2 separate regions of the Homo sapiens genome follow, and region 2 is linked to region 1. The links are contacts of gene promoters, found by promoter capture Hi-C in blood cells and fetal thymus (Javierre and others, 2016). All regions are on one chromosome and are shown on one strand. Each heading gives the region's core, a stretch centred on a gene start or on the middle of the fragment in contact. The rest is flanking DNA. Distances are from core to core; before and after follow the strand shown. Region 1 holds the start of PRSS54 (serine protease 54). Region 2 overlaps LINC02137 (long intergenic non-protein coding RNA 2137).

Region 1 (5,676 bases), core at 2,011-4,510:
GAGCCACTGCGCCCAACTTTAAAACTATTTTCATAAGAATGTGAAGACATTATTTGCATTTTTGCTCTCTTCATTAATGTATAGTAGAATTTTCCAGAGGCTCTAGGATGTCATCACTGTGATGGCTAGTAGTATGTGTGACCTTGTGTATTCCTTTTTTATTTTTTATTTTTATATTTTTTTAAGATGGAGTCCTACTCTGTCGCCCGGCTGGAGTGCAATGGTGCAATCTCGGCTCACTGCAACCTCTGCCTCCTGGGTTCAAGCGACTCCCCTGCCTCAGCCTCCTGAGTAGCTGGGATTATAGACGCATGGCACAATGCCCAGCTAATTTTTCTATTTTTAGCAGAGATGAGGTTTTGCCATGTTGGCCAGGCTGGTCTTGAACTCCTCACCTCAAGTGATCTGCTTGCCTCGGCCTCCCAAAGTGCTGGGATTACAGGAGTGAGCCACCACACCCTACCGGTGACTCCTTTTTCAGCCATGCATCCAACCACACTTGGCCCTGGCAGGTGCTGAGGTAGGGCCTGGGATTCCAAGGATGGATTTCAGGAGCCCATCAGAGTGACATGCTGAAGAGTGATGGCCATATAGAGGGATATGTGACACAGGAAGTGTGCCCAAAGTATAAGAGGAGGGGTCACGAATTCTGCCCAGGACATAAAGTCTCGGAGGGCTTCCCCCTGAGGGCAACCTTGCATATGAGCCCCAAAAACAGTTTCCAAACCATGACCCTAAGAACTGATTGTAACATATAGAATTATCATTAAAGGAGCACAGAGGACCTCTCCATGATGGAGCACATATGACCAGACATCTCCATTAATTGACACTTGATGACTTTGCTGGAACAATGACAGACTGATTTTAGCAAGATGATGTCTGGAAGGTCACTAAGTGCATCAGAACCACTAGAGACAAGATCCTTATCTTTGGTCTGAGTTCTTTTTGGGACATTGGCAATCTACGGTGCAAGGCATTTGCCAACCTTCCCTAACCCCACAAGAGTTTAGGAGTGTGTGATGACTTTTGCTTTTTCAAAGCTCTAGTTGGCTAGTTTATCTGACCTCACAAAACCCTTGGAAAGCCAAGATGTAATGAGGAAATCTGACCCAGAGATGAAATGCTTGTCTTGGCCCCTTAGCTGTGGCTTTTTAAGGAGGGAGAGGACCTTTCTGTGTTTTCTGGGTATCCCCTGGTCTCTTTGGGGCTGCAAGAAGACAGAGAGCTGCAGGAGGCTGAGGGAGCTGGAGGACTCCCCTCTATGTGTGTGCGTGTATGTGTGTGCAAGTGTGTGAGTGTGTGTGCATGTGTGTGTTTGAGAGTGTGTGTGTGCGTGTGTGTATGTGAGGGTGTGTGTGGACTTTCTCATGTCTCCCTTCTAACCCCAGGGAGGCAGGGCAGGGCGGGCTGGGACGGCAGCAAGGTGGGACAGAGCCTGCTTTAGCTAGCTGTCTCCCCTCCACCTGCCCTCTGTAGGCTGGAATTCTTAGTCCTGGGCAGCCTAGAGGTCAAGGGAGGAGGGGACCGCAGCTGCCACTTCTGCCATCTGAGGCTGTGGCTGCCTCCAAGACACCTGCAGCAGTAGAAGCCCCCTGCTCCCGGGACCAGCCCTGCAGTTGGGGGTTGTAGTTTGCAAAAGAGCAGTATTCTCCTGGAAGGACAGGGCAGGGGCTGGGAGTGAAGAGGCAGGCCTCTTGCTCACCCCTGTACCCAGAGGGCCTTATTTTCCTAACCACACTCCCACCCTAAGGATTGGCCCTGACTTTAGTTTCCTCCATCCACGTCCCATGATTCACTTCTTTGCCTGGTTCCTGCCACCAATGCAGGCCGCCCGGTGCAAAGTGCCGTGAGTCATCTTCCCTGAGCCCCTCCTTGGACATTAAGGACCACTTCATCTTCCCGGATGATCCCCTTCTGTGCCACGTGTGCAGCTAAAGTCAGAGGGAGGAAAGCAGCACACTCACTGGTGGAAGAATAGAGAAGGCCGAGCAGCACCAGGAGCACCCCTCGCATCTTGCCATCCCCAGAGAGACCCGCCGCGGACACCATGGGCAGCTGGGGAAACAAAACCCAATGACTCCATCCTCTTCCCAAACACATGCAGGGTTTTCTATGCCTCTTTTTTCCATCCTCTTCCCAAACACACATGTTCCCTCCCAAACATCAGAGGCTCCCCCTCTTTCTACTAACAAAGGTTCCAAGATGTAGGGCACTGACCTGTCTTATCCCTAGTGCTTGGTTCTGTGTGGTAAAGAGGCAGGACCAGTTGGCCCGCACTGTGGTTTGTGAGATGGCCAGAGAAGAGAGGGCAGCTTACTCTTGTCAGTTTTCTTCTCAATCCAGCCCAAGCCCCTGAGCACCCCAGAGAGTTGGGTCTCTGAAAAGGGCTGCTTTTTGACTCGTGGAATTCAACCCTTGCCTTAACTCTGTAGCCATAAAATGCTGCTGAAAGAAAAGTAGAGTTTTAGTGGAAGCCCACCCTGGGATTAATGCCTCTGCTGTGGTTTTACCCTTCTAAACTCTGCTGGCTAAAAGAACGCTAGGGCTTCTGTTAACTGTTAACAGCCTGTTTTTTTGTTTTTTATTTTATTTTATTTTTTTTGAGACTGAGTCTCGCTCCCTTGGCAGGCTGGAGTGCAGTGGCACGAGCTTGGCTCACTGCAACCTCTGCCTCCCAGGTTCAAGCGATTTTCCTGCCTCAGCTTCCTGAGTAGCTGGGACTACAGATGTGCGCCACCACGCCCAGCTAATTTTTGTATTATTTTGTAATATTTTGTAATATTTGTATTTTTAGTACAGATGGGGTTTCGTCACGTTGGCCAGGCTGGTCTCGAACTCCTGACCTCAGGTGATCCACCCGCCTCAGTCTCCCAAAGTGCTGGGATTACCAGCGTGAGCCACCGTGCCCGGCCAATAGCCTGTATCTTTACATAGGAACAGCCCCAGCATTTAGCTTAGTTCATTTGCAAAACCGCGGTAGGAAGTAGACACTCGAGTTATCGCCATTTTACAGATTCAGAAACTGATACTCAGAGACATCAACTAGCCAGTCCAAGGTCACACAGCTGTCAAGCAATGCACAGAAGCCCAAGGAACCCATGTGCACAGTTCTAAGTCACCATGTTCCACTCATGACACTGGATGCCTCTTGTCCTCAGAATGGTCCTCAGAGTTCGTCCATGAACTGTTCCTGCTCAAGGAGAAATGAACTCAGGCTGGCCTGACACAGTAGAGTTCAACAGAAGGATTTCTTCTACTGCCTTGGGAAGAATGTTCCATTGTGGCATCACGGTTACCATGGCACCACCAAGCAACTGTCTGGACATGGGGACTTACGAGGAGCTAGGATGAAAGGCCTCCTTGTTGCTTAGCCTTGGCAGGGCTCTTCTGGAAGCCAGGCTCTCTCCTAGTCTGAGAAGGCAAGCTTTTTGCTGGATTACAAAGTCTTCTCTGGTCGTGGCCACGGTCTGTCTACCCCACTCAGCGCCCGCCCTGTGTCCACACATGCTTGTCAGACTGGACTGAGGAAGCCCACAACTGGGGTGGGTTTGGAATTTCCAGTCCCCGTCAGCATCTTACACTCCCAGGGTGGTTTCTTTCAGACTTAGCCCAGTTTTCTTTAGCCTCTCAGTTTCCGGGTCCAATCTAAGCTACCAGACCAGCTCTGCCAAACCAGAGGCCCAGATGGGATCTGCCACTCCAGCCACTGTGAGCAGCTTTGGTTTCAGCCCAAATGCCAGGACTCGAGAAGTGTCGACAAGGTTGAGGTAAGATGTTAATTCCACGGAGCCACAGGGGGAGGGTGGGCGCACAGGCCTCTGGTGCAGACGCTCAGAAGATCCTTACTGGATGGGTAGATGAATGGCTGATGGAAGGCAGGAAGGCTGGTGAGAAAGTGGAAACTGGCTGGGCACGGTGGCTCACGCCTATAATCCCAGCACTTTGCGAAGCCGAGGCAGGCAAATTGCTTGAGCTCAGGAGTTTGAGGCCAGACTGGGTAACATGGTGAGACCCTGTCTTTTACCAAAAATACAAAAATTTAGCCAGGCGTGGTGGCACACACCTATAGTCCCAGGTACTCGGGAAGCTGAGGTGGAGGTTGCAGTGAGCTGAGATCGCACCACTGCACTACAGCTTGGGCGACAGAGTGACAGCCTGTCTCAAAATAATAATAATAATAATAAAGTGAGGCCTGAGTCCAAAGGGAGCCGCTACCTCCTTCCCCCATGGTTCCCCTGATGTCCTGCCGGCTTCACCACCCTCCCTCACCTTTAACCCTGGGCAGGGGGGCGGGGGTATTGGCTTCTGCTACAAGAACAGAAAATTTTTGGCAGTGGGAGAAGTGCGAGTTGATTCTTTAATTTGTTCCACATCACAGGTATCAAAAAGCTGTATTTTAAATTTTTATTTTTTATTGTTTTTAGAGACAAGTTCTTGCTCTGTTGTCCAGGCTAGAGTACAGTGGTGCAATCACAGCTCACTGCAGCCTCGAACTCCTGGGCTCAAGTGATCCTCCAGCCTCAGCCTCCCAAGTAGCTGGAACTACAGGCCTGTGCCACCAAGTCTGGCTAATTTTTCATATTATATTTTTTTGAAGAGATGGGGTCTCACTGTGTTGCCCACGCTGGTCTCGAACTCTTGGGCTCAAGTGATCCTCCCACCTAAACCTCCCAAAGCATTAGCCATTATATAGATATGAGCCACTGCACCCGGCCCTCAAAGAGCTTTCATTACCATATGTTTCCTCCCTCACAATCCCCAGTCACCCTGGCAGGACAAAGGCATTTCCTGAGCTTTCCAGGTGAGAACGTGGTGGCCCAGAATGTGTTTCTCATTCAGTTGTTCTTTGCTTAATACCCGTATCCAGCCGGGCACGGTGGCTCTCACCTGTAATCCCAGCACTTTGGGAGGCCGAGACAGGCGGATCACGAGGTCAGGAGATCGAGACCATCCTGGCTAACACGGTGAAACCCTGTCTCCACTTAAGACCAGAAGTCTTAATTTTCATGAACTCACATGTATTCATCTTATTCAGTTAGGACTCTTTGTGTCTTGTTTAAGAAATTCTTCCGTAGCTCAGCATCAGAGATCTAGTCTACTCTATCTTCTTCTCAAACCCTTGAAGTCTTGTTTTTCACATGTAAGTCCTCAACTGTATGGATTCATTTTTTGTGCATGGTGTGGATACTTAGTTATGCCAGCATCATTTGTCACAAGTCTCCAATGTGACTCCAGCACATATCAAAGTATAAATTTCTTTGTTGAACTTCTCTTTGTACTTAGTTTTCTAGTTTATTATTTTCTGCCCTTATCTTTTATTGTCTGTTTTCTTCTACCTTCTTTGAGTTTGTGTTATTTTCCTAATTTTTTTTTTTTTTAGACAGAGTGTCGCTCTGTTGCCCAGGCTAGAGTGCAGTGGCATGATCTCGGCTGACTGCAACCTCCACCTCCCAGATTTAAGCAATTCTCCCGCCTCAGCCTCCTGGCTAATTTTTGTATTTTTAGTAGAGACAGGGTTTCACCATGTTGATCAGACTGGTTTCGAACTCTTGACCTCGTGATCCACCCACCTCGACCTCCCAAAGTGCTGGGATTATAGGCAGGAGCCACCATGCCCGGCCTATTTTCTAAAATTTTTAGCTGGCATTTAGTGTGTTAACTTTAGCCCTCCTT
Region 2 (5,366 bases), core at 278-2,777, 160 kb after region 1:
TCTCAGAATCAAATTCTGACCCACATTGAGACCTCCCAGTTAGACCCCAAAATATAAATTTTTTAAAAGCACTTTTTTGTTATGCATCTTTCCTGATAGTAAGTGGGTGCTTATAGCAATACTCCAGTGCAATTCAACCATCATATGATAAGTGACCACTAAGGGTCAGATGTGATTCTTGACATCAGGGATAGGGCATTATATTCACTTTTTTGTGGAAGCTGTCAAAAATCACATTTGTGGGCCGGGTGTGGTGGCTCATGCCTGTAGTCCCAGCACATTGGGAGGCAGAGGCGGGTGGATCACCTGAGGTCAGGAGTTCAAGACCAGCCTGACTAACATGGTGAAACCCCGTCTCTACTAAATACAAAAAAAATTAGCAGGGCATGGTGGTGCATGCCTGCAATCCCAGCCACTTGGGAGGCTGAGGCAGGAGAATCGCTTGATCCCAGGAGGCGGAGGTTGCAGTGAGCCAAGATTGCCCCATTGCACTCCAGCCTGGGCAACGGAGCAAAACTCCATCAAAAAAAAAAAAAAAATCACATTTGTGGCTTAAAACAACACAAATATATTTGCTTACAGTTCTGGAGGTCCTCAGTCTGAAATGGGTCTCTCTGGGCTGAAATCAAGATGTCGGCAGGGCTGCCCTTCTTTTGGCAGCTGTAAGGGAGAATCCCCTTCCTTCCCTTTTCCAGCTTCTAGAGGCTGCATGCTTTCCTTGGCTTTGTGGCCCTTTCTCTATCTTCAAATCCAGCAACACTGTCAAGCCACATCCTTCTCACACTGCCATTTCTTTGGTTCCCTCCTGCCTCCCTCTTCCACTTTTGATGACCCCCGTGATTACCTTGGACCCACCTAGATAATCCAGGATCATGTCCCTATTTTAAAGTCAGCTGATTAGCAACTTTCATTCCATCTGCAACCTTCCTTTCCCTCTGCCAAGTAACATAACATATTCAGAGGTTCCAGGGATTAGGATTTGGGGGGGGGGGGGGTTATTCTGCCCACCACAGGTACTAATATTTGTTTGTTGTCCGTGGTCCATGGTATTCCCAGCTTGCATTGCCACTTTACAAACATTCATCTACTCATTCATTCATTCATTCATTCATTCATTCAGCAAGGACTGGTGGAGGGCTCCCATCTACTAAGTATCTGGGGCTAAACAGTGATCAAGCTTCCTTGCCCTCAGGAAGCTCATCGTTCAGGGCACAGATGAAATTGCACACAGACAACCACTGTATGGAGTGAGGGAGGGTTGTTGAGCCACCAGCTTCACTTCTGTGTATCTGTTTCTTCATCTGTAAAATCAGAAAAATAAAGCTACAGCTAGCTCTCTAAATATTGAGTGAGTCAAAGGAGATAACATATGTAGGTAATGCCCTCTGCATTATCCCTGGCACAATAAATGGCAGATTATTATTACAACAAAGCAGGGGGCTCAAAGGGGGCCCAGAGGAGGCGAGTCAGGGAATGAAGGGGTTAGTTGAGGTCTAAATGGACACTCCAGAGATAAATGGGAGGTGTAGAAAATGGAAGGAAGAGGTCTCCAGACAGAGAGAATGCACATGCAAAGACCCCACGGTGAACAAGCCCCTCAGTCCTCACAACCCCAAAGCCCCACCAGCTCTCTTCTCGTCATGTGCATGAGTTGTGCTCCCTCCCCAGAAGTCTTGAAGCCCCAGGACCCCCCTGACTTCTCAGCACCCAGTTCCAAGGCAGCTGGATGTGTCACAGCACCTACTGCACTCATCACAAGGATTCTCTTTGCCCCCACGCTTTGCACCTGAAACTACGTGATTCATCGTCCTCACAGCTACTAATCAATGGATTCAAACGGCACCAGGCCCTGGGCTGTTACCCACTCACTAATTCCTCAAAGCTTTATCATTAGACCCACTTGAGAAACAAAGAGATCTGCAAGGTTAGGTTACTTGCTCCAGGTCACCCAGGTAGTGGATGGTGGAACCCAGGGCTGTCTGTCTCCAAGCCATGAAGCCTGCACAGGCCAGCAGCCCAGGTCTTTAATGCTCAGCTCTATGCATGGAGGATATATGGTGAGGAAAGCGGGGTGAGTTGAGACTTTAGAAGAATAGCTGTTCTGGCCAGGCGCAGAGGCTCATGCCTGTAATCCCAGTACTTTGGGAGGCTGAGATACGAGAATTGCTTGAGTCCAAGAGTTTGAGACCAGCCTGAGCAACATGGGGAAACCCTATCTCCACAAAAAATACAAGAACTAGCCAGGTGTGGCGACATGCACCTGTAGTCCCAGCAACTCAAGAGGCTGAGGTGGGAAGATCGATTGAGCCTAGGTGGTTGAGGCTACCGTGAGCTATGATCACACCACTGCACTCCAGCCTGAGCAATGGAATGAGACCCTGTCTCAAAAAGAAAAAAAAAAAAAAAAAAAGAATAGCTGTTCTATCCTAGGGTCATAGAGTCAGCCTAGTAGGGACCAGAGCCTGGGGCAAGGGGCAGGGCAGAGGCCACAGCACTTGCTAAAAAAGAACAGACTCCCTTCTTTGCCAGAATAAGTTGTAATAGTAATGAGTTCCAAGAAAAGAAAGGACAAACAGGCTTAGATGCTTAAGGGAGGAGGGTTCCATACCGTGCCCTCCCATCCTCAGCAGGGCCTGGTCCTGCCCAAGAGTAGGGACATCTGACTCAGAACCAGCACAGGAGCAGAGGGAAGGCTGAGCCTCTCAGGTCATCCCTTCCTTGACTGGAGACAAAGCTGTGCAGACAAACAAGAAAAAAAGCCCATGTTGGGTTCATGGTGTACACTTGTGGCTTCTGGTCCCTTCATTTTCATAGTCAGCGACATCAAGCCAACTGTTTTCTCTTGGAGAGCACAGACCTCCACCCACACTGTCATAATGTCCAAACTACCTTCTTGGCATTAAATCTTTCTTTTATGAAATCATGGTGATAACAGATGATTTCTGCGTGTATTAGGTAAAATAAATGATTGGCATCTGAACAGTAAAGAGTTAGCTCAGCAGGCTGGTATTGCTCAAACCCTGCACATTCCAAAGAAGGGGCTGGCCCTTGACTCCTTCTGGGAGATAACCTCAGCCCTTGTAGCATCCTGTTTGATAACAATGTTTTTGTACGTCTGGGGCCTCCTGGCACACTGTATCAGTTTGACCAGAGTTTATGCTAACAATGTAACTTGTGATGAATGCCTGTTTTTATTTGTCTGACACCACTGTGTCCGTTTGATCTCTGGGGGCCTGGAGACTGGTGGCTAAGGTTGGTCACATGGGTGATGCATACTTACATGACTGACCTCAATAAAAACCCTGGATGCTAAGGCTTGGGTGAGCTTCCCTGGTTGGTAACACCTTGCATAAGTCATCATACATTGTTGCTGGAAGAATTAGTGTGTTCCCAGGTGAATCCACTAGGAAGGGACACCTGTAAGCATGCACCTGATATCCCCGCGACTTTGTTTTTGTACCTTTTCTTTTTACTGATTTTGATCTGTATCCTTACACCACAATAAGTGATAAATACGAGTACAATGGCTTTTCTGAGTTCTGTGAGTCCTAGCAAATCATGAAGCCTGAGGGTGATCCTGGGGACTCTCAAGCCAGCATTCTAAGTTGGCTCCCCAGTTTCTGTTATTTGGAAACTTGATTGAAACCTGATTCAACCCAACCCTGTTGTCATGGTGCTCAGGACACTGGGGAAGCTGCAGCCCCTGAGAACGGAGAGTGCCCCTGGGTGGTGAGCCATAGAGCTGAGTCTGCCCCAGGTCTGGGGAGTGGCCCATGCCCAGCTCTGTGGGTGGCTTTAGCTCAGGCCCAAGATGAGGCTGGGCCAATGACAACCCAAGAAGGATGAGCCTGCCAAAAGGGGGCCCCTCTCCAGCTCTTCAGGAGAGATGTTTCTCTGGACATACGGGTTTTCCTAAGGAAAGAGAAGGCTTTGCCCAGCTCCAAAGAGCAAGTCTCATCTTTTCGTCTGCTTTCGGCCAGATTCCTACCTGTCCTAGAAACTCCCTGGAGCCCACAAGGGAAACCGTGCCTCCCCTTTTTCCCCTTCGGGTTCTCCCCTCCTGCAGAGAGCAGGGTAGGTCAGCCCCTCAAGCACACATTTGGGCTGCAGGAGCACTATGATGGAGGAGAGCCTGGATGGTCACCCGCCACTCTCCATGAGGGGTGCTTTTCCCTAGACCAAGTCCCACCTTTCAAGGGAAACTGAGACAAGGAAACCTTAGCTCTGGTCCACGTGACAAAGTGTAGAGTTTAAAACAGAAGCTTCTGAAACTGAGGTCAAATAGTTCATCCCCGGCCTGCCTCAATTTTTTTTGGTTGTTGTTGTTTTATTTTGAAATGATTGTAGATGTACAGGAAGTTGCAAAAAAATTAGTACAGAGAGGTCCAGTGTAGCCTTCATTCAATTTCCCCCAATGATAACATCTTACATAACCATAACAAAGATCAGGCTGGGCACGGTGGCTCACGCCTGTAATCCCAGCACTTTGGGAGGCCGAGGTGGGTGGACTGCTTGAGGTCAGGAGTTCATGACCGCCTGGCCAACATGGTGAAACCTTGTATCTACTAAAAATACAAAAATTAGCTGGATGTGGTGGTGCACATCTGTAGTCCTGGCTACTCCGGAGGCTGAGGCAGGAGAATCACTTGAACCTGGGAGGCGGAGGTTGTAGTGAGCCAGAATCAGGCTGCTGCACTCCAGCGTGGGTGACAGAGGGAGACTCCATCTCAAAAACAAACAGACAAACAAACAATAAAAACACACACACACCATAATACAAGATCAAAACAAAACCTCAGGCTTTGAAATGAGGTGGAGGTTGTAGTGAACCAAGATCGTGCCATTGCACTCCATCCTGGGCAACAAGAGAAAAACTCCATCTAAAAAAAAAAAAAAACAAAAAAACTAATACAATGTAAATGCTGTGTAAATAGTTGTTATGCTGTATTGTTTTTTATTTGCATTACTTTATAGTTACATTATTTTATTTTTTAATATTTTTGATTTGTGGTTGGTTGAATCCATGGATGTGGAACCCATGGACACAGAGGGCCACTGTATATATGTGTGTGTTTGTGTGTGTGTGTGTATATGTGTGGTGTGTGTGTGTGTGTGTGTGTATGTGCGTATGTATATATATAAAGCATTGAAGATCATACCCCCAAAATGTTAACACTGCCTATTGTTAGGCAGTGGAATTATTAGTGATTTTTATTTTCCCCCTGCATAAGGTTTATGCATTGAATATACATAACTATTATAATTTGTAAACAATATTATCAGTTCCACCTCTTGCCTTGACTCAGCACCAACTGGGTTTCCATGAGCCTGCTAAAGTTTCCAGGGGAAGTGGAGGGACATTTGCA

Evidence for each region. The method cuts DNA at HindIII sites, captures the fragments that hold promoters and counts their contacts. A CHiCAGO score of 5 or more calls a contact.
Region 2: a fragment that was not itself captured here is called in contact with the fragment with the promoter of PRSS54 in region 1 in 1 of 17 cell types (M1 macrophages); the score reaches 5.2 in M1 macrophages.

The regions. Positions count from the first base shown.
Region 1 is chr16:58,291,765-58,297,440 of GRCh38, forward strand. It overlaps PRSS54 (serine protease 54), which reads right to left and starts at 3,261. Exons shown (of 7, transcript NM_001305173.2): 1 at 3,123-3,261; 2 at 2,221-2,445; 3 at 1,968-2,058. The coding sequence starts at 2,052. The HindIII fragment of the contact is 4,073 bases long and covers 1-3,425 here.
Region 2 is chr16:58,453,263-58,458,628 of GRCh38, forward strand. All of the region lies in intron 2 of LINC02137 (long intergenic non-protein coding RNA 2137), which reads left to right. Among named protein-coding and RNA genes, the nearest start is that of LINC02137, 35 kb to the left of the region's middle. The HindIII fragment of the contact is 705 bases long and covers 1,176-1,880 here.